Regions from separate parts of the Homo sapiens genome. Here all the other regions are linked to region 3. The links are contacts of gene promoters, found by promoter capture Hi-C in blood cells and fetal thymus (Javierre and others, 2016). All regions are on one chromosome and are shown on one strand. The core of a region is centred on a gene start or on the middle of the fragment in contact, and the rest is flanking DNA. Distances in the headings are between cores, read along the strand shown. Region 1 overlaps FOXK2 (forkhead box K2). Region 2 overlaps FOXK2 (forkhead box K2). Region 3 holds the start of CSNK1D (casein kinase 1 delta).

Region 1 (4,618 bases), core at 231-2,730, 300 kb before region 3:
TTGGCCCGCAGTGTCGGCGGTATGCACAGAGGGCCCGGCGGGGCCCTAACCCAGGGCTGGGCCTGGCACGCAGGTGCTGCCCTGACTGGGCAGTGAGCACGCCGCAGCTTTGGCTGCGAGACCTTAACCCGGCCGCCCGCCACGCCCTGCATGCAGGTTGGGCCACAGGCGGGGTAGGAGCCTGCTCGGGGCTGCAGTGATGGACACCTTAGAAGAAGAGAGCTTTGTGCTGTCTTTCTCCTCCACCTCTGATGAATTTGCTGTTGTGGTTGGATATTTAGAGAACGTTATCATGGATAACGAGTTCCAGTTATTACAGAGAAATTACATGGACAAGTACTACCTGGAGTTTGAAGACACGGAAGAGAATAAACTCACCTACACACCTATTTTTAATGAATACATTTCTTTTTTTCTTTTTCTTTTTTTGAGACGGAGTTTTGCTCTTGTTGCCCAGGCTGGAGTGCAATGACGCGGTATCAGCTCACCGCAGTCTCCGCCATGTGGGTTCAAACAATTCTCCTGCTTCAGCCTCCTGAGTAGCTGGGATTACAGGCACGCACCACCACACCCCGCTAATAATATTGTATTTTTAGTAGAGATGTAGTTTCTCCGTGTTGGTCATCTGGTCTCGAACCCTCCAACCACAGGTGATCTGCCGGCCACAGCCTCCCAAAGTGCTGGGATTACAGGCGTGAGCCACCGCACCCAGCCTGCATACATTTTTTTGGTAGAAAAATATATTGAAGAACAGCTGCTGGAGCGGATTTCTGGATTCAACATGGCAGCTTTCACCACCACATTACAGCACCATAAAAATGAAGCAGCTGGTGACATATTCGACATGCTGCTACGTTCACGGTTTTGGACTACAGAGCAGAAAAAGAAGGCCGAGGACTAGACTTAAGCAGTGGCTTAGTGGTGACTTCGTTGTGTCAATCATCTTCTGTGCCAGCTTCCCAGAACAATCTGCGGCACTGGGTCCTCCCTCCAGCCAATGAATTGGAACATTCTGGATGTCACCAGCCCAACAGGCTCAGCTCATGATGACAGAATACATCTTGGAAAAAGACTGACTCTGTTTTGTAATTCTTCATTTATGTTAAGTATTGACAGGTCAAAACCAAAATGACTTAACCCTCCTAGACCTATTTCTCCTGAAACACCTTCTTGTATTCATTAACCGTAGTATTCCTCCCCTCCTCAAGGAGACACTTCTCTCAGGAGCTTCTGAGTCAGACGCCTCTGGAGCGAGCCCATGTCCAGCACTCCACTTGGGGGGTCCTTCCCCGAGCACACACGCTGGTGTGGACGAACCCGCCGCCGCCACCCGAGCACACACGCTGGTGTGGACGAACCCGCCGCCGCCACCCGAGCACACACGCTGGTGTGGACGAACCCGCCGCCGCCACCCGAGCACACACGCTGGTGTGGACGAACCCGCCGCCGCCACCCGAGCACACACGCTGGTGTGGACGAACCCGCCGCCGCCACCCGAGCACACACGCTGGTGTGGACGAACCCGCCGCCGCCACCCGAGCACACGCTGGTGTGGACGAACCCGCCGCCGCCACCCGAGCACACACGCTGGTGTGGACGTGTGGACGAACCCGCCGCCGCCACCCGAGCACACACGCTGGTGTGGATGAACCCGCCGCCGCCACCCAAGCACACACGCTGGTGTGGACGTGTGGATGAACCCGCCGCCACCCTCTGTCCCAGCAGGCTCTGCGTGAATCTTTGCGCATCTGCATCTCTTTATCTCTTCTTCACATGGGTCAGTTTCAGTACTTCAGCCTCAATGGGGTTCCTGATGTCTATCTAGGGTGTTACTCAAGCCCAGCTTGAGATTTCAGAATCTCCTGTGATCACAGCTTGTCTCGGCTGTAGCAATCAACAGAAAGAGACGTCCTCTACATAAAAGTTCCACGTGAAAAGCCACTCCTAGTCTTAACATTTGCAGTCCTTGTGTCGCTGTCTTCTGCTCCTGATGTAGTCCCACTGTTTCTAGAAGTCTCTTTTAAGCATTATTTTAAAAATATATATTTTTATAGATGAATACTCAGGCTAATCTAGTGGATATGATCTTGGGACTTCCATGCTTATCCACTTAAAGATCAAAGTACTATATGCCGTGTGCTTTTTAGGTGTTAGTGCTGTGAAGGCAAAAATGCTTTCTACAATGGCGTTCCTTCCTATTTGACTGGGCACCTACGAATTTATGCTGTGTGCTAGAAATAGACTAAAACATTCTTACAGCATGTTAGTGTGTTTGCGTGTTTGCTGAAGATCACTTCGGTATAAACCAGTTTGTTAGGCTCTCTGGGTTAGGGACTCTGCATTTTCTTCCTCTCCTACCGAGATGGTGTTCCACTGGTCCAGCCCGGCAGGAGCAGCAGGCAGGGCACAGCTTTACTGGCTGTTTGCTGCTTTGCTTTAGTGCAATGTGTGGTACATTACTTATCAGAAAACACGTATGTCATCTCTAGAAAGAAGAAAAAGCATAGTAGTTCAATGCCCAGTGTGTCCCTTTGATTTGTTTAATAGTAAAAATAAGACTCTGTACTGACTTTTCACTTGGCCGTCCTGGTTTTAAAGGACAAGCTACAAGCTCTGTGTTTTCTGTACTGAAGTGTCACTTATTAAATACTTTTGTACCATGAAAAAATCAAATCATAGGACGTAAATGCAAACAAAAGAAAGACATATGGCATCTTTTCAAATAGGATTCCTCAGACCATCTCATTTCACCCTCAGATGTCCTCTGTGGATTGACCAAAAAGCTATACCATAGGTAGACAATACAAAACACCTGGCTTTTGTTGTAAGCCAGGAGGGAGGAAGTCAGAATAAGGTCTGAGGCACTGGGAAGGGCGGCTCAGAGAATCTCATGGCACAGGAAGAGCCCGTGAGGGTCAGTATTCTGACAGCCAAGGGTACAGCTGAGGACAGAAAGAAATTCAAAGTACATTGGCCAGGCGCGGTGGCTCACGCCTGTAATCCCAGCACTTCGGGAGACCGAGGCAGGCAGATCACCCGAGGTCGGGAGTTCAACACCAGCCTGACCAACATGGAGGAACCCCGTCTCTGCTAAAAATACAAAATTAGCCGGGTGTGGTGGCTCAAGCCTGTAGTCCCAGCTACTCATGAGGCTGAGGCAGGAGAATCGCTTGAACCTGGGAGGCGGAGGTTGCAGTGAGCCGAGATCGCGCCATTGCACTCCAGCCTGGGCAACAAGAGCAAAACTCTATCTCAAAAAAAAAAAAAAAAGAGAGAGAGTAATGTCCATGAACTAGGAGGAATCTGGAGAAACTAATCCCTCTCCCGCTTAATTAGCTGGAGCCACGAGGCATGAAATGACACAGGAGTGGCCTTACTGGGGAAAGAGATGCAGCTGTAGACTTACAGACCTCCATCTAGACAGGAGAGAAAATGTTTCAACAGAAACAAGTTTAATAGCAGTTCAGCAGAGAAGGGTGCCTGACGTGTGCTAGTCTGTCATTCCCTGCCGACGTGAGCTGTGCAGGCACCTGCAATAGACGACAGAAAGCAGGGCATGCATGAGGGGTCCCGTGGGGTCCTCGCCACTTCACGACTGTGGTCCAGGAGAGCCTTGCTCCAAGGGCTCTGCTCCCCAAAAGACCTGTCCTGACTTGGGCCCCCCCAAAACTGAGGCCAGGCCTTTATCCAGCCACCCTCTTTAGCAAGAAAGCCTTGTCCTGTTCATAGGTAGTTCTCAAATAAATGGATGTTAGAAAAAACACACAGAAATACCACTTAAGAGAAACACATTAGAGTCTAATAAAGCTTCTTAGAAACACACTGACAAAGCCCCAGGTAACTGGTATCTCAAACCATCAGAATAAGCTGTAAACTCTGAGGGACCCTCACACACTCCCACAGAGCAAGCTGGACCCCATGTGGAGTTTCTCTCCTTGACAAAGCCATAAAGCCATGGTCACTGGAACATGGGTAGAAGTTATTATCTGGTTGTGTGTGTGTGTGTGTGTGTGTGTGTGTGTGTGTGTGAGAGAGAGAGAGAGAGAGAGAGAGAGTGTGTGTGTGTATGTATATAGTTTGAAGCACAGCCTCAGTTTTATAGAGTAAATACGGCCAGAATTTAGCATGCAATATGTTAAGAGACCCTGACATGTAACTGAATATGGAACTACTCTCCAAATCCAGCATTTTCCTAATGGTCAATTAAGAGATACCCCCTTGCTGTAGACAGGAAGGCAGGCAGGACAGGGTATAGACACTCCAGGTATGGGGGGTGGGCACAAGGTGGGCCAGAGGGGAGGCTGGGTCTCATTCTGTACCTTCCATGATTAAAGACCCCCAAGCCCCTCCACAAAGGAAATATGGAAGACGTGGCTGGTAGGCTTTTTTTTTCCTTTTTGAGACAGGGTCTTGCTCTGTCACCCAGGCTGGAGTGCAGTGGTGTGATCACAGATATCTGTAACCTCTGCTTCCTGGGCTCAGGTGATCCTCCCACCTCAGCCTCTGGAGTAGCTGGGACTACAAGCGTAAGCCACCACACTCAGCTAATTTTTTTTTATTTTTTGTAGAGACAGGGTCTCGCCATGTTGCCCAGGCTGCTCTCGAAATCCTAGAGTCA
Region 2 (4,643 bases), core at 1,496-3,995, 260 kb before region 3:
ATACATTTAGGCCAGGCGCAGTGGCTCACGCCTGTAATCCCAGCACTTTGGGAGGCCGAGGTGGGTGGATCACCTGAGGTCAGGAGTTCAAGACCAGCCTGGCCAACATGGTGAAACCCCGTCTCCACTAAAAATGCAAAAACTAGCTGGGCTGGTCTCGGGTGCTGGTAATCCCAGCTACTCGGAAAGCTGAGGCAGGAGAATTGCTTGAACCAAGGAGGCGGAGGCTGCAGTGAGCCGAGAACGCGCCATTGCACTGCAGCCTAGGCAACAAGAGCGAAACTCCATCTCAAAAAAATAAATAAGATGGGCACAGTGGCTCACGCCTATAATCCTAGCACTTAGGGAGGCCAAGGTAGGTGTTTACCTGAGCTCAGGAGTTCAAGACCAGCCTGGACAACATGGTGAAACCCCATCTCTACTAAAATAAAATAAAATAAAATAATTAGCCGGGCGTGGCGGCGTGAGCCTGTAATCCCAGCTACTCGGGAAGCTGAGGCAGGAGAACTGCTTGAACCTGGGAGGCAGACGTTGCAGTGAGCCAAGATCACGCCATTGCACTGCAGCCTGGGCGACAAAAGCGAAACTCCTTCTCAAATAAATAAAGTATAGCCTAAATGTCCAGTGTTTATGAAGTTGACAGCGGTGTACAGTCACGTCCTAGGCCTTCACATTCACTCACCATTTACTCACTGACTCACCCCGTCCTGCAAGCTCTGCTGACACTAAGTGCTCTAGAGAGCTGTACCTTTATCTTTTGTACCTTATTTTTACTGTGCCTTTTCTATGTTTTAATATGTTTAGATACACAAACACCATGTTACAGCATTCAATACAGTCACATGTTGCTTAAGTTTGTGCAGCATGTGGCTGTAGGCGCAACAGGATATACACACAGCCTGGGTGTGCAGCAGGCTGTGTCATCTAGGCTTGTACAAGTATGCTCTATGATGTTCGCACAACAATGAAATCACCTAACAATGCATTTCTCAGAATGATTTCCACAGTTAAGTGATGCATGACTGTACAAGGCCAAAAAAGTCACTTTGGGGAGTCTACCATCAACAAAAACAAAAAAAAGTGGGAGCAACTGTAGAATCAGAAGTGAATTTAATCTGACTTACATTTATAACTGTTTTACATGGTTTCCTATGGTACAGTAGTCACCCAATCCAAACTCAGAAGCCCACATCCAACCAATTCAGCAATAAACATTTGAGTCCTATCGAGTACCCAGAATTCCTGGAGGAGGTCACCCAGGGGTCAAAGGCTACAACCCCAGGAAGTGTACAATGTAAAGATGAATCAGCCCAGCCCACAGAACACTTACATGCAGTTCACTCAAGTGTACAGGATTTCAGCTGTGTTTAATCACGTGTGGACAAGTCCAGGGGGAAGCTTGGCAAAGTGGGAACAGGTCCTCAAGGAGGACCCAGAACAGACATTTTATATTTAAACCACATCTTCTTCCACCCAGCTCAAATGGCTATCAAAATGATGTTCATTATCCTAACATCCTCCAACAGCTCAGAAATGGCAAAAACACAGAATTTTTAAAACATTCTCTATATACTCAAAATGCTATCGTATTCTGAAAAATACAAGACCAAAAAAGCCACTTTGAAAACACAACAGTAGACCGGGCACAGTGACTCACACTTTGGCCTGTGATCCCAACACTTTGGGAGGCCAAGACAGGGGAATCACCTGCAGTCAGGAGTTTGAGACCAGCCTGGCCCACATGGTGAAACCCCGTCTCTACTAAAAATACAAAAATTAGCAGAGCGTGGTGGTGGCGCCTGTAATCCCAGCTACTCGGGAGACTGAGGCAGGAGAATTGTTTGAACCCGGGAGGAGGACGTTGCAGTGAGCTGAGATGGCGCCACTGCACTCCAGCCTGGGTGACAGAGCGAGACTCTGTCTCAAAAAAAAAAAAAAAAAACACATCAGTAGTTTTAAATTTCCTTATTTCGGGTTTTCTCTCTCTTTTTTTTTTTTTTTTTTTTTAGATGGAGTTTCACTCTTGTTGCCCAGGCTGGAGTTCAAGTGATTCTCCTGCCTTAGCCTCCCGAGTAGCTGGTATTAGAGGCATGCGCCACCACACCCAGCTAATTTTGTATTTTTAGTAGACACAGGGTTTCTCCATGTTGGTCAGGCTGGTCTCGAACTCCCGATCTCAGGAGATCCGCCTGCCTCAGCCACCCAAAGTGCTGGGATGACAGGCGTGACCCAACGTGCCCGGCCTATTTCAGGTTTTCTATATTCCATCTGTCCAAATGAAAGTCAAAAGATGAGTTTTCTTACTGCCAATTATTAATGACTAAACACCATTAAAAACAGCACCTTGAGAGCCATCTTTCCCAGCGTGGCTGTGCTAACAATGACGTCACATCATCAGTTCATTCTCCAGTGGAACCAGGAACACAAAAAACTGGAACAATTCAGCTACAGCTCATTGTCTTTTTTCCCACTAAAGATAAACGTTCTCAGAATATCTGTATCAATGTAACTAAGGTATTCCTAGTTCTCAGAATATCTGTATCAGCCTAATTAAGTCAATAAATACGACTAAGAGAACACATTACAAACGTAACAATGTTAGGCTACTACTGCCTTAAGGGACCTAGTTGTATCTTCTTACAACCAGGGATAGCAAGACAGAACTGCATTCCGAGAGTGTCCTTTCAAAGCTGCAAAGGGAGGAGTTATCTAGTGACTCCGCAATGAGTCTCAACCTCCAGGCTCTGTTTTACAAAAGGCACTTTCAGGTGGGGCGCCATGGCTCACGCCTGTAATCCCAGCACTTTGGGAGGCCGAGGCAAGCGGATCACCTGAGGTCAGGAGTCCGAGATCAGCCTGGCCAACATGGTGAAACCCTGTCTATTAAAAATACAAAAATTAGCTGGGAGTGGGCACGCGCCTGTAATCCCAGGTACTCAGGAGGCTAAGGCAGGAGAATCACTTGAACCTGGGAGGCGGAGGTTGCAGTGAGCCAAGATCGTGCCACTGCATTCCAGCCTGGACGACAGAGCAGAACTCCATCTTGAAAAAAAAAAAAAAAAAATTAGCCGGCGTGGTGGCACGTGCCTGTAATTCCAGCTACTCAGGAGGCTGAGGCAGGAGAATCGCTTGAACCCGGGAGGTGGACACTGCAATGAGCCAAGATCACACCACTGCACTTCAGCCTGGGAAACAGAGCAAGACCCTGTCTCAAAAAAAAAAAAAAAAAAAAAAGGCGCTTTCAAGTATAATTTGAACAGATGCTTTGGTAGCATAAAGGTTTTAAGCAGGAATCATCTGTAAAAAAAATTATTAAAACTTACCACCAGTAGGACCAAGAGTCATAACCAACTTTTATTATATTATCAGCTGCCAGGTTGCTACGCAACAGGCGGCTCTCCCCTCCTGCGTCCTGTGCGTTGTAAGATTTTTCAGTGGCATCCCTGGCCTCTGTCCACTAGATGCCAGTAGCACCCGTCCTCCCAGTCTATGCCAACCAAATGTGCCTCCAGACACTGTCATACGTCCCAGGGAGGGGAAGGAGGCAGACTCACCCCGGTGTCGTACTCCAATGCCCTTCACAGGACAAAGAACACAAGCATTCCATCTCAAATGACAAACTGCAGCAAAAACCAAATACTGTCTAGAAATCTACGGAATTCTCAGCAGAGCACCTTCTCTGTTCCTAACAAATCAGCAGAGGCGTTTGAAGCCCAATGTGCACTCTAAACTGACGTGCACGAGGAAAGCAGGGCCGCAGGGGCTGTGGCTCTGGCACGAGGTACTTTCTGGTCTCCCTGCCACCACTTCCTAGGTACAGCTGTAACACCTTGTTCCGTGCTCAAAGCCCGCTTCACATTGTAGAGATGGTAATGTGTGCCTTAAACATGCCCTCCTGTACTGCATTTTAGCAGCAAATTCAAAAATTCCTCATGAAAAAGTGTGGAGGTTGATTTACTATGACTGTCATTATTTAAGATATTATAAATTGCTCCAAAAACCAAACATAAAAGAAAACAAGAGCCCCACAAAAATGTTAAACAGATAAGAATACTACTACCCAAATGCCAACTGCTTTCACTAAAAGCTTCCTTAATTTAGAAATCCTCTTTTCTTCATTTTCCAAAAAAATCTTTCTCTTCAACAAAGCAGGAATAGTTACATTTTCACAATGGAAAAATCTGCTGTTACTGTAACAGCCTCATCTCCTGGAATATTTCCACCAATCATGCACAGAGCTGTGCTGTACTTCTGCAACCGCAGGTCTAAATGGGACCTGCCAGTAAATGGGGGAGCCACGCCTGACTACAATCACTTCACTATTAATAAATGATCAGCACTTGAAAACATGTATAGGCCAGGCAGGGTGGCTCGCACCTGTAATCCCAGCACTTTGGCAGACTGAGGTGGGGGGACTGCTTGAGGACAGGAATTTGCGACCAGCCTGGGCAACATAGCGAGACCCCACGTCCAAAAAAAAATAAATTAGCCCTGAATGGCCATGCAGGCCTGTACTCTCAGCTACACGGGAGACTGAGGTGGGAAGATCGCTTGAGTCCAGGAGTTCAAGGCTGCAGTGAGCTATGATGGTGCCACTGTACTCCAGCCTGGGTGACAGAGTGAGACTCTAAATAATAAAATAA
Region 3 (4,042 bases), core at 836-3,335:
GAGGTTTAGTGTGGACAAATATACAAATTACCTCATGATTCTTCATAAATTTCCCAGCCTCAGGTGTTTCTTGATAGCAACAGTAAAGGAGCTAAGACACTGTGGCGTTCAGTTGTATCAGGACAGACCTGGGTGTGGGCTGGCCCTCATACGTCCTGCCGGGAGCTCTGGGGGCTTTCCAGTCTGCAGGTCGGGACGTCCTTCTACTCTGAGATGTTCTAGTATCATCAAACCGCCCCACAGACCATGCCTGGAGACTCTGCCTCACACATCCGTTCCCAGCGGTCACCAGCCCCGCATCCCTCCCTCGTCACCGCATCTGTGCGTCTCCTCTGTGACGGAGGCTGTTCCTTGGCAATGACTATCCTCAGCTTCAGCCCCCTGCTGACAGTTTTCTAGCTCAGAACCTGGCCATGTCTGCACCCTCCCTGTCTTCTCGGAAGGGGTGCTGTCATTCCCTGGGCTACACACCTGCTTTGTCCTCCTCTCTCTGACCCCAGGGCTCCAGGGTACCACTGTCCTCTTCCTTTGTCAGTTTGTTGTGGCTGGGGCTGGTGGTGGGGGAGCCACAGCAATCAGCCTGCCTCACCTTGCCCAGCCCGCATGTTCCCAGGGCTCCTGCCATCCCCACTACACCACAGCCCAGTCCGTGTGCACGGGTTATAGAGTCAAGACACAAACACACAAAAGCCAGGCAGACGGGCACAGTACCTGCCGCAGCTGCATGAAGCTTGGGGCACTATGGGTGAGAAGAGCTAGAAATGTTGGGGCCATCAGAGCCCAGGAGGACCAGCCGAGGGAGGAGCAGCTGACAGGTGGGCAGGTGCCCCTAGTCAGGGACAGCAGGACTCCCCAGGAAGAAGGATCACAGCCACCCGTGGGAGAGCTGGACTCTGTTCATCAACAGAAAAGCCGTGAGCGATTCCGCCAACAAGGTCAGTTTTACTAGTCTGGCAGCCCCCCACCCCCGGCTTCTGTAACTCAGAAACTGGGCAGTTCCGACTGCCCATCCCTCATTAGTGACTGATGGTGGTCTGGCCGGCGGCATCTCCTGTCTCCAGGCCCTGCTATGTAATTTCGGGAATGGACGCCCGTCTCCCCGACCTGACCTCCAGCTGTTTGGAGCTGAGGGGTGGAGAGGAAAGACTGGGGGGTGGAGAAAGGCGAGCACCACTGTGGGGCCTGTGGGGGCTGCTTTCCTCTTCTGCAGTGACCTGGACGGGCTGAGGCTGCTGTCTCACTCACACGGCGGTGCCCACACCACAGCCCTGGTATGCTAATGCGTCAAAACACACCTTCACCTGTTTCACATTCTTGAGTTTCAGCGAGGATGCGACAGGTCTCGAGACACATGGACGTGGGACCATGGGGACGGGTTCTTCAAGGTCCCCATGCACCTGCAGCCTGGGGGGGCTTGTCTGAAGGGCTTTCTTCCCAGTGATGGGAATCAAAGGCCCCGATCTTTGAAGCTGGCCATCAGCCTGAACGTCCACTCCTTGTTTCCTTTGCAAGGAGGAACATTCAGATCCAACACAGATAAGAATGTTGACTCCGTCTCCAGGCCGCAGGGACTGGAGGGAGGCAGGTGGTCTGGCCTCATTTTGTGAAAGGTGGTGGCTTTGTCCTCAATCTTCAGGCTGGACATCAGGACCTCCCAGGGCGCGGGCCTGCTCTGTCTCTGGCCTTAGGTGTCAGGAGGTAAGGCCGCAGACGCTGACGTACTGGGATGCCCCAAGCCCGGGAACTGGCAGCCCAGTGAGGGGGTCTCACCTGTGTCCCCTGAGCCTGGCCTGTCACTCTGTCCACGCCTCAGCTACCTGTCCCCTCCTGCAAAGGGCACCGCCTGTCGCGAGGAACTCACCTGGCTTCCTCGACATCTCGGGGGACACACGAAAAGCCCCCGCGAGAGCAGCAGGAGCCTGCACGTGGAAGGGGCTGGCGGCCCGAGGTCCCGGGGTAACAGGAGGGCAGAGGGGCTGGGCACGGCGCAGGGTCGGGAGGAGGCCTGGAGCGCTCGCCCCGCCCGGCCCCGCCCCTGGAGCGCCGCGGCCCCGCCCCGCCGGGTTGCTAGGGGAAGTGACGTCACAGCGCGATGGCGGCGGCTCCTTTAGGCAGCTGAAAGGGGATTTAGGCCCGGAAGATCCGAGTCCATCCGCGGCGGGGAGAGGGCAAGCGGGACCGGTAGGGGCCGGAGCAGCGGCGGCGGCGCTCGGACTGTCCCATCCGCCCCGTATTGAGGCGCTGGGAGCGGCGGGGCGACAGGAAAGCGATGGTGAAAGCGGGGCCGTGAGGGGGGCGGAGCCGGGAGCCGGACCCGCAGTAGCGGCAGCAGCGGCGCCGCCTCCCAGAGTTCAGACCCAGGAAGCGGCCGGGAGGGCAGGAGCGAATCGGGCCGCCGCCGCCATGGAGCTGAGAGTCGGGAACAGGTACCGGCTGGGCCGGAAGATCGGCAGCGGCTCCTTCGGAGACATCTATCTCGGTGAGGCCCCGCCGCCCCCGCCCGCCGCCCGAAGACCCGGGCCCTGCGGCTGCCAAGACCAAGCGCGATCGCGGAAGGAAGTGGTGGCCCCCGCGGGGTCTCCGCGCAAGTCCCGGCACCGCCGGATCGTGGCCAGAACCCAACGGCCACTAGGCTAGCGCGGCCAGGGGTGGGGAGGGCAGTGGGGAGCGGACGTGGGGGAGGGGCAGGACCAGGTCGGGGGAGCAGGGTCTGGAGAGGGGAGGGTTGGGGAAGGAGGGGATAGGGGAGCTGACCCGGGGTGGGGCATGGTCTCTGGGGAGCCGACCTGGGTAGGGGCAGGGTCGTGGGGAGCGGACTCGGGAAGGGCTGGGTGGGGCGTGGGGAGGCGGGCCTGGGGGAGGGGCAGGGCGGGGGTGGGGGCAGCGGGCCGTGGGAGGGGAGGGGGTAGGGCTGGGGCCGCGAAGCGGGCGTCGGCTTCCTCTACGCCTAAGGTCACCGCAGTAAACAAAGGCCACGCTCTTTCTTCCGCAGCCCGGTCCGGGGCTGTCTGGCTGCCCCCTCAGAGGCTGCCCCGGTGTCTTGCATTCGTGGGGGAAAATGTCAGAAAGACCCAAATGCCGTGTGGAGCGGGGGAGTGGCCCGGCTAGGAGTGGGGCTTGCCCTCCCGCTGGGGGTTCTCTCTGAACGGTTCCCCTTGGCCTTGGAGCGGTGACTGAGTGCAAATGAGCAAGGGTTAAGTTTAGGTGAATGTAGAGAAAGTCACACAGGATTAAGATGCTGGCAAGATGAGAGGCAGATGAGGTAGTTGTACTCATGAGGTGTCCTTTAGACTGTAACAGTCTCAAGGTAGATTTCAAAAACAATGGGATTAGAAGGTTTTGGGTTGTGTCATATTTACAATGGAAAAATATGCACGTGAACACAAGTGTGATGAAAGGTTGGCTTAAATCTTCAAGTTTGTAATTTTTTTTTTTTTCCTGAGACGGAGTTTCGCTCTTGTTGCCCAGGTTGGAGTGCAATGGCGTGATCTCGGCTCACCGCAACCTCTGCCTCCCAGGTTCAAGCGATTCTCCTGCCTCAGCCTCCCGAAAAGCTGGGATCACAGGCGTGCGCCACCACGCCTGGCTAATTTCGTATTTTTAGTAGAGACGGGGTTTCTTCATGTTGGTCAAGGCTGGTCTCGAACTCCGGACCTCAAGTGATCCGCCCAGTTCGGCCTCCCGAAGTGCTGGGAAGCCACCGCGCCTGGCCCAAGTTTGTAATTTTAAAGTAACTTAATTTTCCGCACTTGTTAGTGGGATTGTGCAATGCACGAGTTATTCCAAGATCCCCTGAATTTGAGGATATGTAGCCTGAGGCGGTGTGCCTGCAGAGGGGCTGCTGCAGACCTTTGAGGGGAGCTGTTTTCTGTTCCAGCAGCCCTAGCTTTGGGGTGTGTTTTAACTGGGGCACCTGTCAGCTAGGGTCAGGAATCCCCTGGGATGTCAGTAATGCCTCTGGTCATACCTTTTAGATGAAGCCACATGTGGACAGTCTCCAGTTCTCACACCCTTCCCACTTGTCACCAGAGAGAGGACTCAG

Evidence for each region. Contacts are between HindIII fragments. The CHiCAGO score rates a contact against its expected background, and 5 or more counts as called.
Region 1: a contact is called between a fragment that was not itself captured here and the fragment with the promoter of CSNK1D in region 3, in 1 of 17 cell types (activated CD4 T cells). The highest score is 5.7, in activated CD4 T cells.
Region 2: a contact is called between a fragment that was not itself captured here and the fragment with the promoter of CSNK1D in region 3, in 1 of 17 cell types (activated CD4 T cells). The highest score is 5.1, in activated CD4 T cells.

Annotation. Positions count from the first base shown.
Region 1 is chr17:82,572,974-82,577,591 of GRCh38, reverse strand. All of the region lies in intron 4 of FOXK2 (forkhead box K2), which reads right to left. It also overlaps the pseudogene ARL2BPP9. Among named protein-coding and RNA genes, the nearest start is that of FOXK2-AS1, 13 kb to the left of the region's middle. The HindIII fragment of the contact is 4,658 bases long and covers 1-3,809 here.
Region 2 is chr17:82,527,810-82,532,452 of GRCh38, reverse strand. The region is part of intron 1 of FOXK2 (forkhead box K2); the gene reads right to left. Among named protein-coding and RNA genes, the nearest start is that of FOXK2, 10 kb to the right of the region's middle. The HindIII fragment of the contact is 2,689 bases long and covers 1,401-4,089 here.
Region 3 is chr17:82,271,743-82,275,784 of GRCh38, reverse strand. CSNK1D (casein kinase 1 delta) reads left to right here and starts at 2,085. Exons shown (of 9, transcript NM_001893.6): 1 at 2,085-2,479. The coding sequence starts at 2,404. LOC124904089 (a long non-coding RNA gene) reads right to left here and starts at 2,007. Exons shown (of 2, transcript XR_007065953.1): 1 at 712-2,007. RefSeq lists silencers at 1,946-2,155, 2,396-2,585, 2,636-2,685. The HindIII fragment of the contact is 9,296 bases long and covers 733-4,042 here.